Regions from separate parts of the Homo sapiens genome. Here region 2 is linked to region 1. The links are contacts of gene promoters, found by promoter capture Hi-C in blood cells and fetal thymus (Javierre and others, 2016). All regions are on one chromosome and are shown on one strand. Each heading gives the region's core, a stretch centred on a gene start or on the middle of the fragment in contact. The rest is flanking DNA. Distances are from core to core; before and after follow the strand shown. Region 1 holds the start of RARS2 (arginyl-tRNA synthetase 2, mitochondrial). Region 2 overlaps RNGTT (RNA guanylyltransferase and 5'-phosphatase).

The links. Contacts are between HindIII fragments. The CHiCAGO score rates a contact against its expected background, and 5 or more counts as called.
Region 2: a fragment that was not itself captured here is called in contact with the fragment with the promoter of RARS2 in region 1 in 6 of 17 cell types (naive CD8 T cells, naive B cells, total CD8 T cells and 3 more); the score reaches 7.5 in naive CD8 T cells.

What each region holds. Positions count from the first base shown.
Region 1 is chr6:87,586,083-87,593,385 of GRCh38, forward strand. RARS2 (arginyl-tRNA synthetase 2, mitochondrial) reads right to left here and starts at 3,905. Exons shown (of 20, transcript NM_020320.5): 1 at 3,840-3,905. The coding sequence starts at 3,875. ORC3 (origin recognition complex subunit 3) reads left to right here and starts at 4,053. Exons shown (of 20, transcript NM_012381.4): 1 at 4,053-4,110. The coding sequence starts at 4,087. RefSeq lists enhancers at 3,035-3,996, 3,760-3,989, 5,370-5,870, 5,871-6,371. The HindIII fragment of the contact is 3,839 bases long and covers 1,760-5,598 here.
Region 2 is chr6:88,857,215-88,864,517 of GRCh38, forward strand. All of the region lies in intron 8 of RNGTT (RNA guanylyltransferase and 5'-phosphatase), which reads right to left. Among named protein-coding and RNA genes, the nearest start is that of RNGTT, 100 kb to the right of the region's middle. The HindIII fragment of the contact is 4,031 bases long and covers 704-4,734 here.

The DNA.
Region 1 (7,303 bases), core at 2,655-5,154:
TTAGATGTCACCTTTCTTGATACATGGAGAATGAACTGGAGGGAGGGCAAGAATGGAAACAAACACCCCATCAGAAGGCTGTTGTAAGCAGTCAATATAGGTGATAATGGGGGCTTGGTGTGGAATAGAGAAAGGAGAGGGGGAGGCAGCAGCAATAGTGTAGATGGATTCAAGATATAAAGATAAAATCAACAGGACTTGCTGAAGAAAGGAATCCAAATATTGTGATTCTATGTACATATCATGCTTTCCAGATGTCTGTGTCTATGCACATCCTCCTCTTGCAATACCTGACCTCTCCCCAAGCTCTCACTCTATTTACTTGGCACACTCCTACCCATATCCCTTTCAAAACTGAGACCTAACATCACCTTTCTACAAAACTTTGTCTGACCCTTAGGAGCTTTCAAGTTCCCTTGGCACTTTGCACATGCTTCTAATACAGTGATTACAGGCTGCAATGCAATTACCGGTTTACATCGTTTTCCAAGCATGTCTGAGGCCATTTCAGGGCAGAAACTATTTTCCGTTCACTTTTAGCCTTGGGACTGATGACAGTGCTTAGAAAACTGTCGACTAATTAATCAAAGTTAGCTAAATGCATTTGCCATTGCACGTTACACATTCCTTCATTCCTAAACTATTATAGCAAAACGATGCTCATTCGCAAAGGTATTAAATACAGGCTGGGTATCCTTGGGACCACAAGTGTTTCAACTTTTGAATTTTTTCAGATTTTGGAATATTGGCTTTATACTTACCTGTTGAGCATCCCTAAACTGAAAATCTGTGGGGTTGGTTATTTATTTATTTATTTATTTATTTATTTATTTATTTATTTTTTGAGACAGGGTCTTGCTTTACCACCCACGCTGGAGTTCAGTGGCACAATCTTGGCTCATTGCAACCTCCACCTCTCAGGTTCAAGTGATCCTTCCACCTCAGCCTCCCAAGTATCTGGGATTACAGGAGGGTGCCACCATGCCCAACTAATTTTCTAATTAGTTTCCCAGGCTGGTCTTGAACTCTTGGGCTCAAGTGATCTGCCTGTCTCAGTCTCTCCAAGTGCTGGGGTTATAGGCATGAGCCACCATACCCAGCTCCTAATCTGAAAATCTGGAATTCTCCAATGAACATTTCCAATTTCCAATTGAGCTCCAATGAACTCAATGAACATTGAGTCTCATGTCAGCACTCAAAAAGTTTCAAATTTTGGAGCATTTCAGATTTCCAGCTTAGGGATGCTCAAACTGTACGGAACATGTTTTTTCTTTGCTCTTTTTTCCCCATGTCCTAACGTATTGAAAATATTATTATTTATCCTCAAGTTTCAGATCATTCCCCAATGACTCTATATTCAGAGAAATACATATATATCTGCATAATTTACACTGCTGTATAAATCCATTAGATTCTGTTCAATGATTGGACTGTGCTTCTTGCTTTCACAAAGAGCACAGTATATAGGAAAGATCTAATTTTAAAGTTAGAGTTCTGTTCATAAACCAACTCTACAATGTATTGATGATGTGGCTTTGGGTAAGTTATTTAATCTCTGTGGATCTCAACTGACTCAATTATATAATAAGGTTAATACTTCTATATCACAGGGTTGCCATGAGCTTAAATGTGAATGTGTAGTAACTAGCACAAATATATACTCAATATATTAGTTCTTGTTTCTCCAACTTATCTTTTTCTTTTTTTTGAGACAGGGACTCACTTTGTCCCCCAGGCTGAAGTGCAGCGGTGCAATCAAAGCTTGCTAGTTTCAGCCACCTGGGCCCAAACGATCCTCCCACCTCAGCTTCCCAAGCAGCTGGGACCACAGGTGTGTGCCACTACACCTAAGTTTTGTTTTTTATTTCTTTATAGAGATGGGGGTCTCCCTATGTTGCCCAGGCTGGTCTTGAACGTCTCAGTTCAAGGGATCCTCCCACCTCGGCCTCTCAAAGTTCTGGGATTACAAGTGTGAGCCACCATGCCTGGTCCAATTTACAGTCTTTACAAAGAACACAGCCTTTGCAAAACTAAACACAATTTGTTTCTCATCATGGCACTATCTTTACTTAAGGGCTAAGAATGGAAAACGTCCACCCTTACACACAGCTTAGATACTAAGGTCCAAAACTACCTTCCCTGATATGGTTTACTGTCTACATTAACATGAATTTATTATTTTTTGTCTTCATTAGCATAACTTTACTGTTCTAGAAGACTTCTGCCCAAATAACTTAATCATTCATTATAAGAACTTCATGAGAAATCTATTAGCTTTTCACGTTTTTTATTTTTATTTTTTGTTTACAGGGTCTCGCTCTGTCACCCACCCTGGAGTGCAGTGGCACAATCATAGCTCACTGTAGCTTCAAACTCGTGGGTCCGTCCAAGTGATCCTCCAGACTCAGCCTTTCAAGCAGCTAGGACTACAGAGGTGCACCATCATGCCTGGCTACTTTTTAAAAAAAATTTTGTTGAGACGGGGTCTACCTATGTTGTCCACGCTGGTCTCGAACTCCTGGGCTCAAGCCATCCTCCCACCTTGGCCTCCCAAAGTGCTGGGATTATAGGCATGAACCACATGCCAGGCCTATTAGTTCTTCCAATAGAAAACCTCAATAGTTTATGCCTTAAGGCTTCTTGCACTCTTTGCTTTTCCTATCAATCTTAAACCGCTGTATCAGATCAGAGTCCAACCCTAATCAAGCCATCTTCCTCCAACACCCTCCTACCCTCTCCCTCTGAAAGACCAGCCTTAAGCCATACCCATCAGTAAAATCTGACCTTGCTTTCCCAGTTTAATACACTACCAAAGCTCTCAGTGGTGTTCTTCCTTATCCCAGTGAGCAATAAATTCAGCTGTCTTAACAAAATGTCATGTTGGTGATATTTGGCGAATTATCACCGGACAGGGCAGTACATCTATAAACATAAAGACAAGGCAGAGGGATTTCCCCACAAATGTCTAGAAATACTGTAAAAATGAGCCAAGATAAATTATACACCAGGCTAATTACGTCCACTAGTACATCCATTAATCAGAAGGAAATGGGTTAGCCAAGACCACAATAGAAAGTTTCCTTGCAAGGGTGGCCAATGAGTCTTAAAAATTCTTTTTGATTAATTCCACATTTATACTGCAATTTTGCCCAGCGCGGTGGCTCAGGCCTGTAATCCCGGCTCTTAGGGAAGCAGAGGAGGGAGGACAGCTTGAGCCCAGGAGTTTGAGGCCTGCCTGGGCAATACGGCGAGACCCCGTTCTCCACAAAAAGGAAAAACAAAACAAAGCAATTATATTGCAATTTTGTAAGCCCTTCCTCACAACAGAGCTGTTCAAATACGACCCTGAACCAAGAAAAACTGAGTCTCAGATAGCTCTTATATCTTTGGGCGTTACCAAAAACAATTCTAGGGTAGGCTGCCTAAGTGACTGCAAGAGAAATAAGCAGCTTTAAAATGAGGTCCTTCTGAAGAACAATCCAGATCCATCATCAATGTCACTAAAGTGTAAAGAACACTAACTTCTATGGGGTCTAATCATGGTCTAATGACTTGCCGCCACCCAGGTAAAGCATTCATAGCTGTGGGGTGGGAAGGAGAGAAGAAAGCACCAGGTACCTTTCAAAGTTTACTTTTCACCGAGACAAACTGATCCCAGCCGACGCTCCACAGGACTTCTGAAGCTCCACCAGCTCCAGAGAAGGGGGAGGAGGTGGTAGAAACTAACAGGATTCCGTGGGACCCACCCTCCAGCTGACTGAGGACTGGCCCGCAGCGGTGAAAGGCCTTTGGGGTCCCTAGCTCCTCAGGGACTCCTCTGCGCGCTCCGGGATCCATACCTGGCAAGCAATAGCGCGGCGAAAGCCGCACGCCATGTCCACCTCTACGGAAGTGCGCCGCAGTCCGCCAGTTCCGGCCTCGCCCCACCTCCTTATACGACCCGCCTCCCCGCGCCGGAAACCCGCCCCGGAGGGTGATGCCAGCCAATCAAGGAGCCGTGTGGCTCGCCACTAACCTCTGCCCTGCAGCCGCGAGGGCGCGCGGGAAATCCCGAGTGCATCTGGAATACGCAGAGTCAGTAAGACCATGGCTACGTCCTCGATGTCTAAGGTATGTGGTGGCCGATGCGCACTGTGGCTCTACCGCTGCCTCATTCCCCTTTGAAGAAGGGATGAAGCCGAGGTTACGTAGGCATCCCTTCCCTGGCTGGAGAGGAGGGAGGGAGCGGCGTACTGAGCTGAGGCGTCCTTGCTCCAGATCAGTTGAGGCCAACTTTGCTTGGGGAGCGAGGACGCGGATCTGCCTTGTGGTATGGCTAGGAGGATTTTTAAGTTCTGGTTGGTGGAGGTCGGATGTCCTGATGATGTGGCCCAGTCTCTCATTTTTCCATCTCACAAATACTGTGCGCCAAGCACTCCGTTAGGTACCAAGATGCAGTGGTAAACAAAACAGATTCAGTTTCTGCAGTCAAGAAAGTCGGTAAACATAGATAAACTGACGATCACAAATTTTAAGTGTTAGCAAGGAAAAGAGTTCTAGGCAGACAACAGAAGAGTGGGAAGAACCTAATATAGGTTGTCGGGGGTTAGCGGAGGCTTTTTGGAGAAAGTGACCCTTTCGCTGAGACCTGAAAAATGAGTAGAAGTTAGGTTAAGGATTAGGGCGAGGAGGGCAGAGAGAACAGCATGTTTCTTCGGCCCAGAAGATAGAAATAAAATGGCATATTAGAGGAATTTAAAAATCATAATCAGAAAGTAGACAAAGAGTGGGAGCGTCATGAAAAATGAGAATGAAAAAGTAATGTGGATGCGGGTGTGTGTGGTGGGATATCTTATAGACCTCCTCATGTTGGCTACCTAGATGGCAAGAAATTGCAAGACATAGTGTAGTTGGTAAGAAGATAAGCCCTAGAGCTGTATTGTCCAATGTGTTAGTCACTCACCACATGTGGCTATTTAAATTTGAGTTAAAATAAAGTAAGATTAAATAAAAATTCAGTTTCTCCGTTGCACTAACCACATTTCAAGTGCTCAATCATCACATGTGGCTGCAGCTACCATTTTAGATAGTGCAGATATAGGACATTTCTATCATTACAGAAAGTTCTGTTGGACAGCGCTGTTCTGGACCACAAAAAGTAAGACCTTGAGTTCTATTGTAAGTGCAGCGGGAAGCCCCTGAAGTTAAGCTGTCTGAGAAAGCTGAAAAATGCACATGAAGAAGCTACATTCTCCCTATGTTAAAACAATGGATTGATGAAGAAGGCTATGTCATGGATCTGATTTTTTATTTTGATTAAAACGGTTTATGAGAAGCAGTGCTTTTAAAGACTACATCTCAAGGAAAAAGGACAAGCCCTGGGGTTTAAGGTTATGCTAGTAGAGATTCAAAGGTAGTATTTTTATTAGAAATGGTACTGGTTTTATTTTGTCCTGGTTATAATGTTCTGTAGGTTTTGAATGGTCTATCCCTTAATCCTGTTGATTGCATAAGCACCTCTTATTTTTATGTATCTTGCAGAAAGTAAGATTTTTCAGGAAAGCATTTTTGGTATTATAACAAATGTCTGTATTGGGATGAGACCTTACATGAATAAGAAGCTTTAAGAACTATTTCATGAATTTATGGAACTGCAAGCTTTTTTTCTTTTTCTTTTCTTTTTTTTCTTGAGACAGAGTCTTGCTCTGTTACCAGGCTGGAGTGCAGTGGCGCGATCTCGGCTCACTGCAACCTCCACCTCCCCGATTCAAGCTATTCTCCCACCTCAGCCTCCCGGGCAGTTGGGATTACAGACATGCCCCACTACACCCAGCTAATTTTGTATTTTTAGAAGAGACAGGGTTTCACCATGTTGGCCAGGCGGGTCTCGAACTCCTGACCTCGAGTGATCCGCCAGCCTCGGCCTCCCAAAGTGCTAGGATTACAGGCGTGAGCCACCACGCCCGGTCCTTAAACATATCAAAACATTTTAGTGTCTCTTTCATCGTGAAATTTTCTGGCTGTTGGCCTTCCTCTATCTCAAACACCATCACTTGACCAGCAGTTCCAAATGGTTAACCATGTTACTACCACTGCCCTATATTAAGATCCTTTCTGATCACTCCTCATGTCTTGCTCCTTTGAAGCTCCTTTTTCCTTTACTGAATTGCAGGTGGATTTGGAAAGGAGGTAATGACAGGTTTGTCATGGTATCACATGATTTTTCTAAATATGTATGTGATTTCGCACACTTCTGCTAGTTGCAGATATAAGAATATAAGGCACAGGGCTGTGTGCAGTGGCTCATGCCTGTAATCCCAACACTTTGGGAGGCCGAGGTGGGTGGATCATCTGAGGTCAGGAGTTCGAGACCAACCTGACCAACATGGTGAAACCACATCTGTACTAAAATACAAAATTAGCCTGGCATGTTGGTGGGCGCCTGTAATCCCAGCCTCTCAGGAGGCTGAGGCAGGAGAATCGCCTGAACCCGGGAGGTAGAGGTTACAGTGAGCCAAGATTGTGCCATTGCACTCTAGCCTGGGCAACAGAGGGAGACTCTGTCTCAACAATAGCAGAAAAAAGAATCTAAGGCACAGTTCTTAAATGGGAACATGTAATCCAAATGGCTACTTTATAGTTGCACAGCGGTCTTTAACACTATCCTGAGACAACTTTTCCTAGGTATCGTTCTTTCATTCTGTCTTTTATTTTCCATAGAAATCGAAATATTTAAGAAGTTATCCATCAGGCCGGGTGCAGTGGCTCATGCCTCTAATCCCAGCACTTTGGGAGGCCGAGGCGGATGGATCACGAGATCAGGAGTGCGAGACCAGCCTGGCCAACATAGTGAAACCCCGTCTCTACTAAAAATACAATAAATTAGCCAGGCATGGTGGTGGGCACCTGTCATCCCAGCTACTCAGGAGGCTGAGGCAGGAGAATGGCTTGAACCCGGGAGGCAAAGGTTGCAGTGAGCCAGGATCGCACCATTGCACTCCAGCCTGGACGACAGAGCGAGACTCTGTCTCAAAAAAACAAACAAACAAACAAAAAAAAACTATAAGCTATCCATCATGTATGACTTTAGAATTGGTAGAATAGACTAGGACCACTAACTTGGGGGTGATCTACCACTGGTCAAACAATAATATGAAACTAAACATAGCTGGGAAATTACCAGGACAGTTATTTGGCAAGCATTTATTCATTCCATATTCTGATTGCCTAATATGTATGTTAGCACTATTCCAAACATTGGAGAAACAATTATAAATAAAATACAGTTTGTGCTTGAAGGCACTCACAGTCTACTCAGGGAGAC
Region 2 (7,303 bases), core at 1,469-3,968, 1.3 Mb after region 1:
AGAAGGAAAACTGACAGAAAACAATGGTAACTAATACCACCTTAGAGTCCTAATTCACATTCCTCCCAGTAGTCTGAGAGTAAAATGGTCGTTAAACTCCTGGTAATTTAAAGTTATCACCAATTTAGACCCAACTCTGATCATCAATTCAGGAATTTATCTTATACTCTATGAAGGCAGAAATCCTATCTATTTTGTTCCTTCTCACAGCTTAAGTATCTTGCACAGTCTACCTGAATACACACTAAAGGAAGGCACTCAATATTTGTTAAGCAAAGCTGTATGTACAACAAAGTTCATCATAATATTTTATAACAGTGAAAGGATAAAAACTCAAATGTCCATCATTCAGCAAATAGGTAAAATAAATATTGCATATTCATGTAAAAGCATACTAGTCAAGCATTTTTTAAACAATGATAAAAATATTCATTAATATGGAAAGAGATTTACAATATATTTAGTGGGAAAAAAGCAAGTTTAAAACCAGAATACATTAAATAATTACAGAGGAAAGGAGGAGGACAAAACTGTATGTATATCGTAAATATAGAGTAAAGCCTATACCAAAATAGTAAGAGCTGCCCCATCTCTATGTATTAGAATTATCAATGATATTTGCTTTCCTCATTAAGCTTTTCTGTACTTTCAAAATTTTTAGAAATAAACACAAATTGCTTTTAGACACAGGGGGCAAAATTAAAGCTTTACAAGGGGGAAAAAAGCCACCAAGCCAGAAATGTAGTCTATAATCAGACCCAGAGAAACATTTTCCCTTTGCAAAGTGGCAATGAATTAAGACAGGATTCTAACCCTTGTTCTTTGTACCACAGTGGCTTCAAAACAACAGATATTCCTCTTCTTCTGTCATACAGCCTCCATACTAGAGCATTTTGATGGGCAATAAAAACAGAAAAGCTGATCATTTACATTGATTTATTTCACCACCATCTCTATCTCTATCCATTTTTCCTAGCCCCTATCAAACTTATTATGGCTTTTCTCTTAAATTTTTTAATCAATTATTTTTTAAAATATAAGTTAAAGGGCCGACCTGGAGCCAGTCTAGATGCTAGGCAGTACTAGATGCTAGGGTTATAACAGCAAATGGCACAGACTCTCTTCTCAACTTCACATCATTTACACTCTTAAAAAGAAAACAAGATATTAAATAATTCCAACCATAATACATATTAGAACAGTGAAGAAGAAGCTATTACAGGAGCCTACAAAGGTAGAGCCTGTCAGAGTTTGGAGATCATGGAAGGCATTCCAGAGGAATTCATGCATAGCTGATAATAACAACAGGTTACACTTACTGAGCAATTACTATGTTCTGAAGAAAAGAGCACTTTTATTAACTCATTTATTAACTCATTTAATCCTTACAACAACCTCACCAGGTCAGTAAAATTATTATCCCCATTTTCCAGATGAGGAAACTGAGACATTGCCCAATGTCATAACGCTGACACAACGGCAACGCTGATATTAAAATTTAGACAATAGTTTGTTTGTACACCCTCTACAGTATACTAACCCTCACATTCAATATGTAGGAGTCAACCCAGCACAGGTTGTAATGTGAGAGAAGAAGAGAAATGAGGGATGGGAGGGTTGGAGTACACAGACTAGTAGGTGCAATGTCCTTCAGACAAGATAGAATGCAGCAATGTTCTGGTAACTAAAAAAGGTTCAGAATACTCAAGTGTAAAGAGAAAGCAGGAAAATGGTATGAAATGAGACTAAAGAAGTAACAGACAAATAGGAATTATGAAAACTTTTTTTTTTTTCTGAGACAGGATCTCACTCTGTCACCCAGGCTGGAGTGCAGTGGTGTGAACATAGCTCACTGCAGCCTCAAACTCCTGGGCTCAAGCAATCCTCCCACCTCAGCCTCCAAAAGTGCTGGGATTACCGGCATAAGTCACCGTACTCAGTCTGAAAATCTGTTTAATCCCCCCACCCCCAGCTACTAGTTATTTTAACTTTTTTTTTTAACTTTATCTTAGAAAACAAAAAACTACTTGTATGAGACAAACAGAAACCATAATGCAGAATTCAAACCCAGGAGATATATATAATACAGCACATTGGTTACAAAGATACTGGAAAGCTGAGAACATAGAACAGGAAGGCTGAAATAACTCAGAGATTAATAGTTGCAGGAAGCACTATGACCCGCAGGACTAGGGGAACAAAATGAAAGAGGTCTGTTATTGAAAAGCTAGGAGCTTGGAAGAAAAGCATTATAGGGCTATGCCTGGAAGAAGGTGAAAGAGGTCCATGTGGCAGAATGCTCTAACCTCTAAGGAGGTGGCCACAAATGGCCCTGTAGCTTAAGTTTGAATCCCTATGAACAGGTGTCCAATAGAGGATGGTCAAACCACTAAGGGAATAAAGTCCAGCAGGTTAGGAAGTGATACAAGTGGCACTCTATCTACCTAGGATGCCTTGCCCAGAAGCTGGTATCTCTGAGAGGAAACAGCAAGACTGGTGCAGAGAGTGACAAAAGAAGTTGGAGAATGGAGTAATAGTTGTCCTTTGCTATTGGAGGTGTCCTTACAGAAACTGGGAATAAGAGTAGTCCCTTCTCTCACCTTCCAAATTCCTGCCTGTGCTCCCAGTGGTAAAACTTAACACGAAGTAAGCTGGCAAGGGAGTCTGGGAAATGTAGGTTGCAAAGTCCCAGCCCCTAACACAGAATAAAAGGGTGGACTCGAACTGAGAGATGGGAGGTAAATAAATGCAGACCACTAAAATGTTTTAAGCAAACTAATGACATAATCTCACCTGCATTTTTAAAAGTTCATCACCACATAATGTATACCCCAACAGAATAGGGGTCAATCTGTAGACAAGAGAAATTATAAGGCCTCTGTAATAGACCATGTGAGAAATCACAGTGACTACGACAGTAGTAACAATAATTTTAGAGATAAATAGATAAACTCAAGATATTCAAGTTGCAGACTGACAGTAATTCAATATGCTATTTACTGGATATGTGACTGAGAAAATGAGAGAAGTTCCAAGTTCTGGCTTCAGGAACTGGGCATATTTACTGAGCCATGGGGCATTTAAGAAGGAAGCAGTAATTGTCCCATTTTGTTTGGAAGAAACGATGGACACCATGAGTTTAGATGGAAACCAAAGGCCCAGATTTTCCCTACCCCTAGCAGGCTGGAAATAGGCTCAGGATCTAGACCAGACTATCCATGTTCCTTTCCCAAAACTTTTAACTTGAGTGACAGAGAGGCACAAGAATAGTTGCAGAATTATTTATAGCAACAGCAAAGACATTGTCAGCAAGTGCTAATGGTGGCTTCCTAATCAAAGTGTTCCTGTGCCCTGACCTTGGCTCTGGTCCTTGCTGCTGGCTTCCCTTGATTCCTATCCATTTTCCAAAAGTGGTTCTCCTTATTTATTCCGTTGCATAAATTAGCCAAAGTTGATTTCTATTGCTTACAGTCAAGAAGGCTAAGCATAGTGATACACGTCTGTAATCCTAGCACTCTGGGAGGCCAAAGCGGAGAATCACTTGAGGCCAGGAGTTCAAGACTAGCCTGGCCAAGATAGTGAGACCACATCTCTATTTTTTTTTTAACTTAAAAAAAAAAAAAACATGTTAATGGGTTTTTTGTTGTTGTTGTTTTTGCCTCAATATATACAGCTAAATGTAAGGAGGTTTAATGTGCCTATGATGAAATCCCACTGTAATGTCCCTAACATATCCTTAATACCAAGGGTTACATAATACTAGCCCTTTACCTGGTAACTTCATGCCAAGAGACACACCATCTATTTACCATCCTTCAACATAGACAAGTGTATAATGCTAATTCTAGAGTTTACTTTCTCTGTACATCTTTTCTCTCATAAGAATTCACTACCAAACCTCTGCTATTTCTATACAAGCTACCTTTCTTCTCATTTTTATTCCCAATAGAATTGGCACAGAAGTCCCTGAAAGCTAATTCTCAATGTTGTATTAGTATACAGAAATAAATTCAAGTATACTAAAATTTCTTATAAAGAAAATTCAGACCACTTTCCCAGACAGAATATATAAACCTTCCTCACATAGGAGCAGTTGGTCACACCATGCCCCCTACTCACCAACACCTGTCATGTGTTCAAAAAACAATACAAGAACAGCTGACTTGCCAAACTCCAACTTTCTTCCTTCCCCATGGGGCTCATGCACACTTTGCCTGTTTCTCTCATTACCTCACTGCTCAGTAAATTCTGCCTCTGATAACCTCTTTTGCAAGATATACCCATGTCTTCTTTAACCCATTTTTTCCTGTTTCTTTCAACTCTTTTTTTTAAATAAGAAATCTTAAGTATATTTTACAACTTTTTAAAAAGAAAAAACGTATTTCTCCTTCTCACCTCCTTTAACTTAGTTCCATTCATGAACCAACGAAAACTCTGATCAAAGCTAGTGACACTTCTGTATAAAGCAAAATTTAAAGTAATAAGTTGTTTAATCCATCTAGACAATAAAGAATCAGTGTCAAAACCCCTTTCACAACCTCCTTATATAATAGTCTCTATCTCCTTATCTTATAAAATCCAGTTTTCCCCAAAGTTTTTAAATTATTCAAAATAGTTTTCATAAACTTCTTATGTTACAATGGCAGTTTGCTTAATTACCAGTGTTGAAACAGTACATTTTGTCATTTTTCATAGTATATATACATAATAAGTAATTTAGCTACCTTAGGAATAAGCTTTAGAGGCTAGTTTAGGCACCTAATTATGATTTATACTATAATTCCATAGAAATACAATCTAAACTTAATGAATCTCAGAAAAAGACCAGATAATTTAAACATCATTTGTTTGCATCTGTGATATTGTGAAATATACATATATTTGTTCTTCAACCGTTTCCTGGCATACAAATCCTAAAATCCTCAGAAACACCAAAATGATGCTTTCTTGTATATTAATGAGTTGACTGATGGTTGGCAGCTCTAGGTAGCTTCGGGATGGGGACTAGGAAAGAACATGGCAAGATTAGAGTGTTGGGACTTTCAACACCACCCCACATCTTCTAGGAAGGAGAACGGGCTGAAGATTAAGTTGATCACCAATGGTCAATGGTTTACTCCCTCACGCCTACATAATGAAGCCTCCACAAAAGACCAAGGACAGGGTTTGGGGAGCTTCCAGACAGCAGAACACGTGGACGTTACTGGAGGGTGGCACATCCAGGGTGGACGTGAAAGCTCTGCACTCTTTTCCCCATGCTTCATCCTATGCATCTCTTCATCTGTATTCCTTGTAATATCCTTTAAAATAAACCAGTAAACGTAAGTTTCCCTGAATTCTGTGAGTTGCTTTAGCAAATTAATTGAATCCAAAGAGGGGGTTGTGAGAACTCCAAATTGAAGCTAGCTGGTCAGAAGTTCTGGAGGCTAAGACTTGCAACTGTGTCTGAAGAGGGGGCAGTCTTGAGGACTTTACCTTATGTCATCTTCCCAGAAATTCAATGGACTCATATTAAGATCCTCAGTTTCACATTAACAAATTTAAAAGAACACACACACACAGTAACACTGTCTAACCATTTTTTGACTTTTTACTGCTGCTAACAGTCAGTGAAATGACAACATAGCTCTAACATAATCTCTTTACCAAAAACTATCAAAATTTTCATTCGGCAATATAAGAGATTCTAACCCTACAGTTATTTTTGTTTTGACTTATTGATTCTGTAAGTACAGCAGGCCTCTTCAAAGAATGAGCTCTTCTTTCACACTCGTACCACATCAACTTAAAGTCATGAAACAGATGTGACTGATTATGGCTTTATGGTCTTAAATTCACTTTAAGCCCACAGCTCCCTTCTATTATGTGATCACTTACATGAACACAACAGTAATTAAGCAGACAACATGTATTATTTAATTTTAAATTGCAAAGCCTATTCACTTCTTCACCAATTTAATTGTCAAATTAATCTAACTAGTCTTTGATCTTAGAATGTTAATTGTATATTAAACGGCAGGCCAGCAGCATGCCACTGAAGATTTGGACAATTTGCCAACATTTAAATGTCTTCTACATAAGCATAGCCATCTTTAGTTTATATGTGGCTTCTACCACAAATTTTTTACTATGTCCTGTTTATCTAAACAGTTTAATCTTAATGAACAGTACTGGGTAAATTATGTCTATAGAAAAGTCGACAGTCAAAAGACTGTAACTTTCATTTTAATTTTAGTTAATTCATCACAAGTAAATTTTGAAGACGTAGAGATACCTACCATAAAGAATCAAAAAATCTCAAGCCTTATCAAAGTACCGTGTGTGCTTATTTCTATTAACAGATTATTAATCGTCTTCAAAGTCTGTTTCAAGAAAGTCCCTTCAACCATCAAGATTTAGAGTCTTGTGTAAATCTGTCAATTTAAAAAGCAACACTATGACAGAGTTTGGCAGGGCATGGGGCCCAGTGTCAGTTTCTAGATTCCTCTCTCTTATTCCACAAAATTAATGACATATTAAATACCAAGTGTAAGGAAGGAGCAAATTTTTTCCAAACTACTCAACAATTTTAAAAAATTAATTTGCAAACTGTCAATGGTATGACTGCTATAATTATGGGCTCTGATGAAAAATCCAAGTTCCAGAGCCTGTAATTCCAGACTCAATAGTGCTTGCTATCTAGATCCCTAAAAATCAAGCAGGCAGACTGGAACCAAAAATCTCATCCAATATTATGAAGGTCCAACTCCTAACTATATGCTTTAACTTCACAGTTGCAACTTGCTTATTCTCCTCTCATTTTGCCATCCTCCACTGCTCAGGAATTTGTATATGTCTGTTTCTAAGCCCATGTAGCTATACTACTACACCAGCCTGTCTCAAAATACATATCTTCAAATTCCTATTCAAAACTCCCATGAAATCTCCCATACTCCAATTAACAGGTCCTAGTCAAAGCACTCTATCACTCCAATTTGTCCAGGAATTATATAGCTACTACATATAATAAATGATCACATCATGGTGAAAGAGAAGCATACAGGGAGCAAGTAGGAGTGTTAAAATCCAGCTTAAGGAGTTTCAACTTCATTTTGTAATTGGGTTGAAGTATAGTTGAAATGCAACAAACACTAATAAATAAAATGAACTGTTCATTTGCCAACATTAGCATTAAAAGTATTTGTACTACATACCATTAATTACATGTTAACATATAGCAAAGAGGGGTGAAGATATCTGTAGGCAAAAGAGAAGGTACCAGCATAGAAAATTATATGGCACTCTACTATAGTGGTTAAGAACC